2 separate regions of the Homo sapiens genome follow, and region 1 is linked to region 2. The links are contacts of gene promoters, found by promoter capture Hi-C in blood cells and fetal thymus (Javierre and others, 2016). All regions are on one chromosome and are shown on one strand. The core of a region is centred on a gene start or on the middle of the fragment in contact, and the rest is flanking DNA. Distances in the headings are between cores, read along the strand shown.

Region 1 (3,779 bases), core at 317-2,816, 650 kb before region 2:
GCAATGTTTAAGTGCTTTCTTCCTATGTCTGCAATTCAGATCACCTCTAAGCAGGAAACCAAGCAAACCATAGGCTCACATTGCTTCCATTTTCTCCACAGTAATAGTCTGCACTTGCTTTTGTTAAATATGTATGTGGTTTCACATATTGTATCTTTACTTTTATTAATTTATATGTACAAGGTAAATAAAATATTTGATAATCTTTCATGGACAAAAGAATAAGTATTCAGGGTTAGATTTATACTTTAAAAAATTTTGAGAGTCATGTTATATTAGATTCCAATGGGAGAAATCTGATACTTTCACTTTCAGAGTATTTAATTAGTTCAACTCTTCAAAAAGCAGTAAATGAGACCGGGTGCCATGGCTCACGCCTGTAATCCCAGCACTTTGGGAGGCCAATGTGGGCACATCACAAGGTCAGGAGTTCAAGACCAGCTTGACCCATATGGTGAAACCCTGTGTCTACTAAAAATACAAAAATTAGCTGGGCATAGTGGCATGCACCTGTAGTCCCAGCTACTCTGGAGGTTGACACAGGAGAATCACTTGAACCTGGGAGTCGGAGGTTACAGTGAGCCGAGATCACACCACTGCACTCCAGCCTTGGAGACAGAGTGAGAGACTCCATGTCAAAAAAAAAAAAAAAAAAAAAAGGCAGTAAATGTTGGCATTTGTTTTTTTCTTTCCTTTTTAAAATCTATATGTCTCCAAAGAATTATTAAATGTTAAATCCAATGGTAAAATATTAAAAATAACAACCATTTATAATCTTAAGTTTTCCTCATATCGGTGTCCACTGCTTCCTGGCTTTTATCCTGTGGAGCAGAGAATAACAAAAATTATACTGAAATAATTCCACACTAATAGTCCTGATGTAACACTGAGTATTTCTATCTCCTCATCTCAGAATTGTCTTCTAACAGCATCCAATCTAAAGTGCCTACTCCCAACTATCCTAACCCCATCATTCTCTGTCATGCCACTATGTTTGAACTCCTCAGGACACTCAAAAGTATTGGAAAGTACAAAATCAATTTCATTCTTGATCTGTTGATTGTCTGGACACCCCCCTCTCACCTCCCCATGAGAGCTATGATGTTCTAAGCTTATTCACTTCTGTGGCTCCAGTTCCCAGAGAAGCAGTGATATATATTAAGCACTTAATAATAATAATCTGGAGTGAATCCATTATCTCTTTTTGTTTTCCTAAATTCATTTACGCCTCTGAACTGCTTCTGTAAGAATTGAAGGTTTTGCTATGAAAACAATGTCTCTAAAGCTGAGAAAAAAGTCTCACATCTAATGGAAACTGTTGATACATATAGATTCGGCCACAATGAAAATTCACCAAGTTCGGAACTAACTGAATTGGTTTTGCTTAACATGTCTCTTAATCACACATCAAAATCCTTTAAAATCAAAATATTTGAAGTACATTTGTTGTTAAAAAAATGGAGTCTGTCAAATGAAACAGCTATGTCACTTTTACTAGGAGAAATCATCCAGAAAAGAATGGTATTTCTAAATAGATTAAGATATTAAGTAATGAGTACTAATAGCAGCTGGCAACTGGAGAGTGACTTGGTTTCAGAGAGAAAGATTTTAATATCAGAGGAACCTTTCTGAAAATCTAGTTCCATTAGTTCTAAGCACATGACAAACTTTAGAGATTACATTTTTAAAGAAGAGAACTCCAATTGTTTTTGTAATTCAAATGCAGTTTTGGAAATATCTAAATAATATTTAAATGTAATGTATACACCTTAAAATTTTTCCAGGACCCTATTTATGACATTCATTTTCTTAGGAGACCAGAAAATATATTTATTTTAAAAGTATTACATATTCAGATTTACATAATTTAGATTAAAAGATTATATAACTACTTTTTTATTTTGAGAACAGTCATAAATCTAAGAACAATTTTGCCTTCTTCGTTTCAAATGCTGGAATTCTGCACAGAGAATGAGCCATAGAGGGCGCTATTGTATTTACAATCCTGTGTAAGAAGCTTACAGATGATGAAATTCAAGAAATTAACTCAGTAGAATCAGTTGCTTTCACTTTGTTTACTAGACTAGAAAAATCAAGTGTTTTTTGACAATTTGATATTCAAAACACTGTTTTTTCCTCTTACAGTGTATTTTAGGAAAATCAGATTATCACTTTTAAAGGGATTTTTTTTAACAGGATAGTGAAATAATAAAATTATTTTGTCATGAGAAAACCTGAAATCCACTTCCTTAGAAATTTTTAAGAATGAAATATGTTATTATTGCTACAGTCACCATGTTGTACAACAGGACTTTTGAATTTATTCCTCCCGTCTGAAATTTTGTACCCTTTGATCAACACATTCAAATCTCCCCTCTTTTTTTTTTTTTTTTTTTTTTTGAGACAGTCTCACTCTGTCTCCCAGGCTGAAGTGCAGTGGCGCGATCTCGGCTCACTGCAACCTCCGCCTCCCAGGTTCAAGCGATTCTCCTGCCTCAGCCTCCCGAGTAGCTGGGATTACAGGAGCATGTCACCACGCCCAGCTAATGTTTGTATTTTTAGTAGAGATGGGTTTCACCATGTTGGCCAGGATAGTCTTGATCTCTTGACCTCTTGATCTGCCTGCCTCGGCCTCCCGAAGTGCTCAGATTACAGGCGTGAGGCCTGCGCCCGGCACTCCCCTCTCTTTTTGAAGCCACTGATAACCACCATTCCATTATCTGCTTCTATGCCTTTTTAAGGTGAAAAATGATAGGCATGTGCAGTAACGCATATGTTAATTAGCTTGATTTAGCCATTTCACAATGTATTTATATTTTTAAACATGTTGTAAATAATATATATAATTTTTATTTGTCAACTAGAAAATAATAAAAACTGTATAAAAAACAAATTATTAACACAATCAGTAGGCGAGATTTATAAAGAGTTTGGTGATATACATTTTTCCATTCTGGGGATGGCATGTATTGGCCTCAATTTGTTCATAATACTCATTTTTTGATGCAGATATTTGAAATCTAGTGTCCTCCTTTGAATGAGATGAGTGTTCTTAACTCTGTTCCTTCTCAAGTCAAAATTCTACCAAACTATTAATATTCAGCACAAATTCCCAATCGCTCCCAGTCATCTGGTACCTATAAACTACAGCTTCTCTCTTGCTCCACTGAAATCAATCATTTCTCTTTTATTTCTCCCACAGAGCATGTTCTATCATCCTCTACAGTTATTTGTGAGGATGTGTCAACCTCTTGCCAGACACCTGAGAGCTACACTCATGTAGGCTAAGTCCAAAAGCCCCAGAACCCAGACCAGTTTTTCTTTATCTCAGGCTTAGGTAAAATCCCTTCCCTTGGGAGACCGAGGCCGGCGGATCACGAGGTCAGGAGATCAAGACTATCCTGGCCAACATGGTGAAACCCCGTCTCTACTGAAAATACAAAAATTAGCTGGGCGTGGTGGCACTTGCCTGTAGTCCCAGCTACTCGGGAGGCTGAGGCAGGAGAATCGCTTGAACCAGGGAGTCAGAGGGTGCAGTGAGCCGAGATCACGCCATTGAGCCACTGCACTCCAGCCTGGCGACAGAGTGAGACTCCGTCTAAAAAATGGAAAAAAAAAAAAAATCCCTTCCCAATCAAAGGCACAAGCCCAGGAGGAAATAGACACACTTAGTAAAGTGGAACAGGAACAGAATTCGTACATTTCTGTTTTTGGCACCCCTTACTCTTCCTCTGTGATCACACCTGGTGACAGTCTCTTCTCTCATCAGGTAAGTGGCC
Region 2 (3,872 bases), core at 469-2,968:
CTTCATGATTACAAACATTAAAAAATCATGATTACAAATTAAAATCTGGTCTATTTTATAAATCGACCCTGAAAATACCGTATTTAGGCTCAAAATAAATCAAAGCTGTCAATATATAGTAAAGCAAAATCTTAAACCTATATTTCAACCAATTTCTCTCTACAAGAAGTGAGTGAAATCTTTCCTAACTCCTACACCAAGAGACCTAATAAATCCCTTAAGGTGTTATTCTTTATGGGCTACAAGATCAAATATGTTGGGAAGTATTTACATAGACATGTTGTCTACAGAGATTGAGATATATTAATATACAGTTCTAAAAGAAAAACCAAATACCATTCAGCGTCCGACACTGGAAGCCCTGAATTCTAAGTGGAAAAGTTATCCCTTTCACCAAAAATGTAGAAAACAAGGCAGAAAATACTTCCCGGTCATTTCCTTAATTTTTTAAAAATTGCATTACACACCTATAAATGTATTAGTATCAATCAAATCAAGTTTAAGAGGGACTTTGTGCTGCTTCCTGTTCTTGGGAATTAAGTCGGACCAGAAAGTGCTATGCATAAGTAAGATCCTTCAGAAAGAAACAAGGTCAGAATCCTAAGACATCACAAAAGGTAGACAAAGCTTTTTCCATCCCACACAAGCGCCAGAGACAGCAGCCTGTTACCAACTTAGGCATGGTCACATTTGCAATGCACCACTTCCTTCGCACGCCCCAGGAGCTCTATAAAATGAAAGTAACTTAAAAGGTGGGGGGGGCGTATAATCGTCTGATGCAACAGCAGTATGGCCCACACAGACTTCGGGCTCTGGGCAGTGACTGGGTTCTCTGTTTAGATTTAGAAAAAGCATGGGGCCGGGGCGCTGGCCTGAAAACTTACGATGGAGCTGTATGTATCGGGGTGGGGAGTGCGAATGAATGAATGAAAAAAAGGAGCGGACTAACTCCTATTCTCCTATCCCCACCTCCCACAATATCGATTATTTAAATGTTACAAGATTTTCTAGGCTCCTGAACACAGGGGCCCTTGTGGGGCCGTCTCTGGAAGCGCTGGGAGTCCAGGCGGTCCCCGGGGCTCTCTCCTGCCCCTTCTGCCGCGACAATGACTTTCTCCTAGAGACAGCCGCCTACACTTGCACTTGTTCCTCGTGGCCCCGGGGAAGGGCAAGTGGCGAGGAGGAAAGAGAGGAGGAAAGGAGCTTTTTGCCCCTGGTGAAACGCAGCTGCATCCCAATCGCAAATCCGGCTTGGTCCCTCGCCGTACCCGCCGTACCCGCCGGTCCTGGGGAAAAACCCCGAAGAACTTTCTGGAGGCGCCCCTAAGGCTCGCGCCAGGGCACAGACCTGGCCCGACCTTGACCCCCGTGCAGTCTGTGCTTGAGCCCCGGCGAGCTGAGCCCGCCCCAGCCGAGACCTCGACCCCGGCCCCGACCCCGCCCGGCCTGGGTCTTCGCTGGCCCCAGCGGGTCGGTACCTGCTGGAGCCCGCGCGGGGCTCGGTTGAGCGTTCTTGCGCGCCTTCTTCCCAGGCATCTCCGCCGGTGCCGCCGCCCACTCAGCTACAGAGCCCGGGAACCTCAGCCTCCAACTGGAGCACCTCGGACAGCTGCAGGACGCGAGCTGAACACGAACAGTCCTGCAGGCAGGGATGCTGGGATCGGGTGTCCGGACGCGCGGAGATGCCAACTACACACGGTGAGTGCCCGGGAAACTCTGAGATCCCCGCGCCAGAGACCACGCTTTTGTCCAGTGAGAACTTCCCTGGTGACGTAGGGAAACTAGACGCCCGGCCCGCCCCTGTCCCCGCCCCTGTCCCCGCCCCGCAGACGGCGTTATGGGAGCGGACGCGGGACGCGGGCGGGGAAGTACCCCGCTGAGCGCGACCTGCCCGGACACGCTCCCGACCCGCGGCGGCGCCGACCCGCGGCGGGGGGCGCAGAGCGCTCGGCCCCGAAATTACTTCCTTACAAAACGAGGTGGGAGGAGAAGGGGGTCGGCTTTGACCATCTGCAAACGCTGGACGTCGTCAGCGGCAGTGGTGGCGGGAGCTGGGAGTGGCGGGAGCTGGGAGTGGCGGGAGGGGAAGGGTTTAACCAGGAGGAACGTTGTGGGTGGGGAGAGACCAGAGGCCTTGGCAATTAGAGACTTGGGTAAACAAGCCCAGAAAAGAGATTGGAAAAGGAAACTTTTCGAACTTGAAGAGTATGGGCAGTAACAGGGAAGGGAAATGAGAAGAACCTTAATCACCGCAGAGGAGATGCCAGAGGCCCTGTGAGAAAGCTCCGGGTCCCAGGAAGTCACTGCAAACAGAAGCCCTGGTGCCAGCCAGAAAGAACATCGTGTTTGAGTTGGGAAGGGATTTGTGTGTGTCCTTCCAGATAGGTCGATATCGCCCATTGTGGATGTTTAGCAAAAACGAGTGGATCGTTATCATATGGAAAACGTTCAAATCTTTTGTGGGAGGGCTGAGCTACCTGGGAACGTGAAATTATTTGCATAATGTTTGGCGAGGCCATGAGTAATTCTACTATTATGAAGAGGAGTAATTAGGAGTGGTTAACGGTTACTGAGAGCCGCTTCATGCTAAGGACTTTGACATGCATTTTCTCATTCCGTCCTCAGAACAACCGTTGCTACTTTACGGGTGCAGAAACTGAGGTTTGTAGAAAATTGCCCAAGTTCACTTAGGCAGAGAGCACTGCCCTGATTCCGAACCAGGCAGGCCCACAGAGAGCAAGAGCTCTTACCCACTGTAGCCTTCCCAGCAATCAGTTTCTTAGAAAATGTGTGTTTTCGCCGAACGCGGTGGCTCACGCCTGTAATCCCAGCTCTTTGGGAGGCCGAGGCGGGTGGTTCGTTTGAGGCCAGGAGTTCGAGACCAGCCTTGCCAATATGGTGAAACCCCGTCTCTACTGAAATACAAAAGATTAGCCGGCCTTGGTGGTGCACGCCTGTCGTCCCAGTTGCTTGGGCGGCTGAGGCACGAGAATCGCTTGAACCTGGGAGGCGGAGGTTGCAGTGAGCCGAGATCGCGCCACTGCATTCCAGCCTGGGTGACGGAATAAGACTCTGTCTCAAAAAAGAAAAAGAAAAAAAAAGCGTGTTTTCATATTAGCTGTGCTGTTTAATGAAAAGATTGCAAATTCGTTGCATGGGCTCCCTAGAAGTGCTTAGTTTGGTTTACAGTATTGGCCTTCAAAATGTATTGTAAAAATTTGAATTGATTACCAACATTTTAAACATTGAGGGATTGCATGAAAAACCCAGATTCCAGCATCTCTTGGAAAACCAGAATCTCTGACAACGTGGGATCCATTTTCCAAAAGTGCAAACTAGGTTTGAAGTGTGGTCGAAGCCACACCCTTTAGAGGAACCTAGGGTGCTCCTGTTCACCACACTCCCCGCTGTTTGCTTTTCCCATTTACATTATCTGGCCTCAGTAGGCATTTGAGGTTGTTTATTTATCTTAAATCATTCAGTCAACACAAACCAGCAAGTATTTATTTATGGCTTGGTCCTGCTGAAGGTATGGACAACAATATAAGCATGGAACAAAACTGCTCTTGAGTTTAAACAACATAGTTTCGAGGCTGATGTTGGCTGTTTTTGAATGGGGTATATACAAACGAGTAAAAGTGGACAGAATTTAGGAATCATCACAAGACGCAGGAAGCACACTGGAGATGCTGCCTTGAAATCTATTATCCCCAAGTGGTAATTCAAAACCACTCCAGGCTCATTTTGACTTACCTAATACATAAGGAACACCGTTAACTTTTTGGTTGCATAAATTATTAAATTTCTGTCGTTCAAATACGCACCCTGAAATGCAGAGAATATACTCAACAACCACCAAAAAAAAAAAAAAA

What was found. Contacts are between HindIII fragments. The CHiCAGO score rates a contact against its expected background, and 5 or more counts as called.
Region 1: a fragment that was not itself captured here is called in contact with the fragment with the promoter of PMAIP1 in region 2 in 8 of 17 cell types (M0 macrophages, megakaryocytes, fetal thymus and 5 more); the score reaches 17.2 in M0 macrophages.

The regions. Positions count from the first base shown.
Region 1 is chr18:60,547,751-60,551,529 of GRCh38, reverse strand. No RefSeq gene overlaps it. Among named protein-coding and RNA genes, the nearest start is that of MC4R, 180 kb to the right of the region's middle. The HindIII fragment of the contact is 906 bases long and covers 1,114-2,019 here.
Region 2 is chr18:59,897,842-59,901,713 of GRCh38, reverse strand. It overlaps PMAIP1 (phorbol-12-myristate-13-acetate-induced protein 1), which reads right to left and starts at 1,718. Exons shown (of 2, transcript NM_021127.3): 1 at 1,479-1,718. The coding sequence starts at 1,536. RefSeq lists silencers at 1,352-1,561, 1,712-2,121 and an enhancer at 1,878-2,629. The HindIII fragment of the contact is 10,069 bases long and covers 630-3,872 here.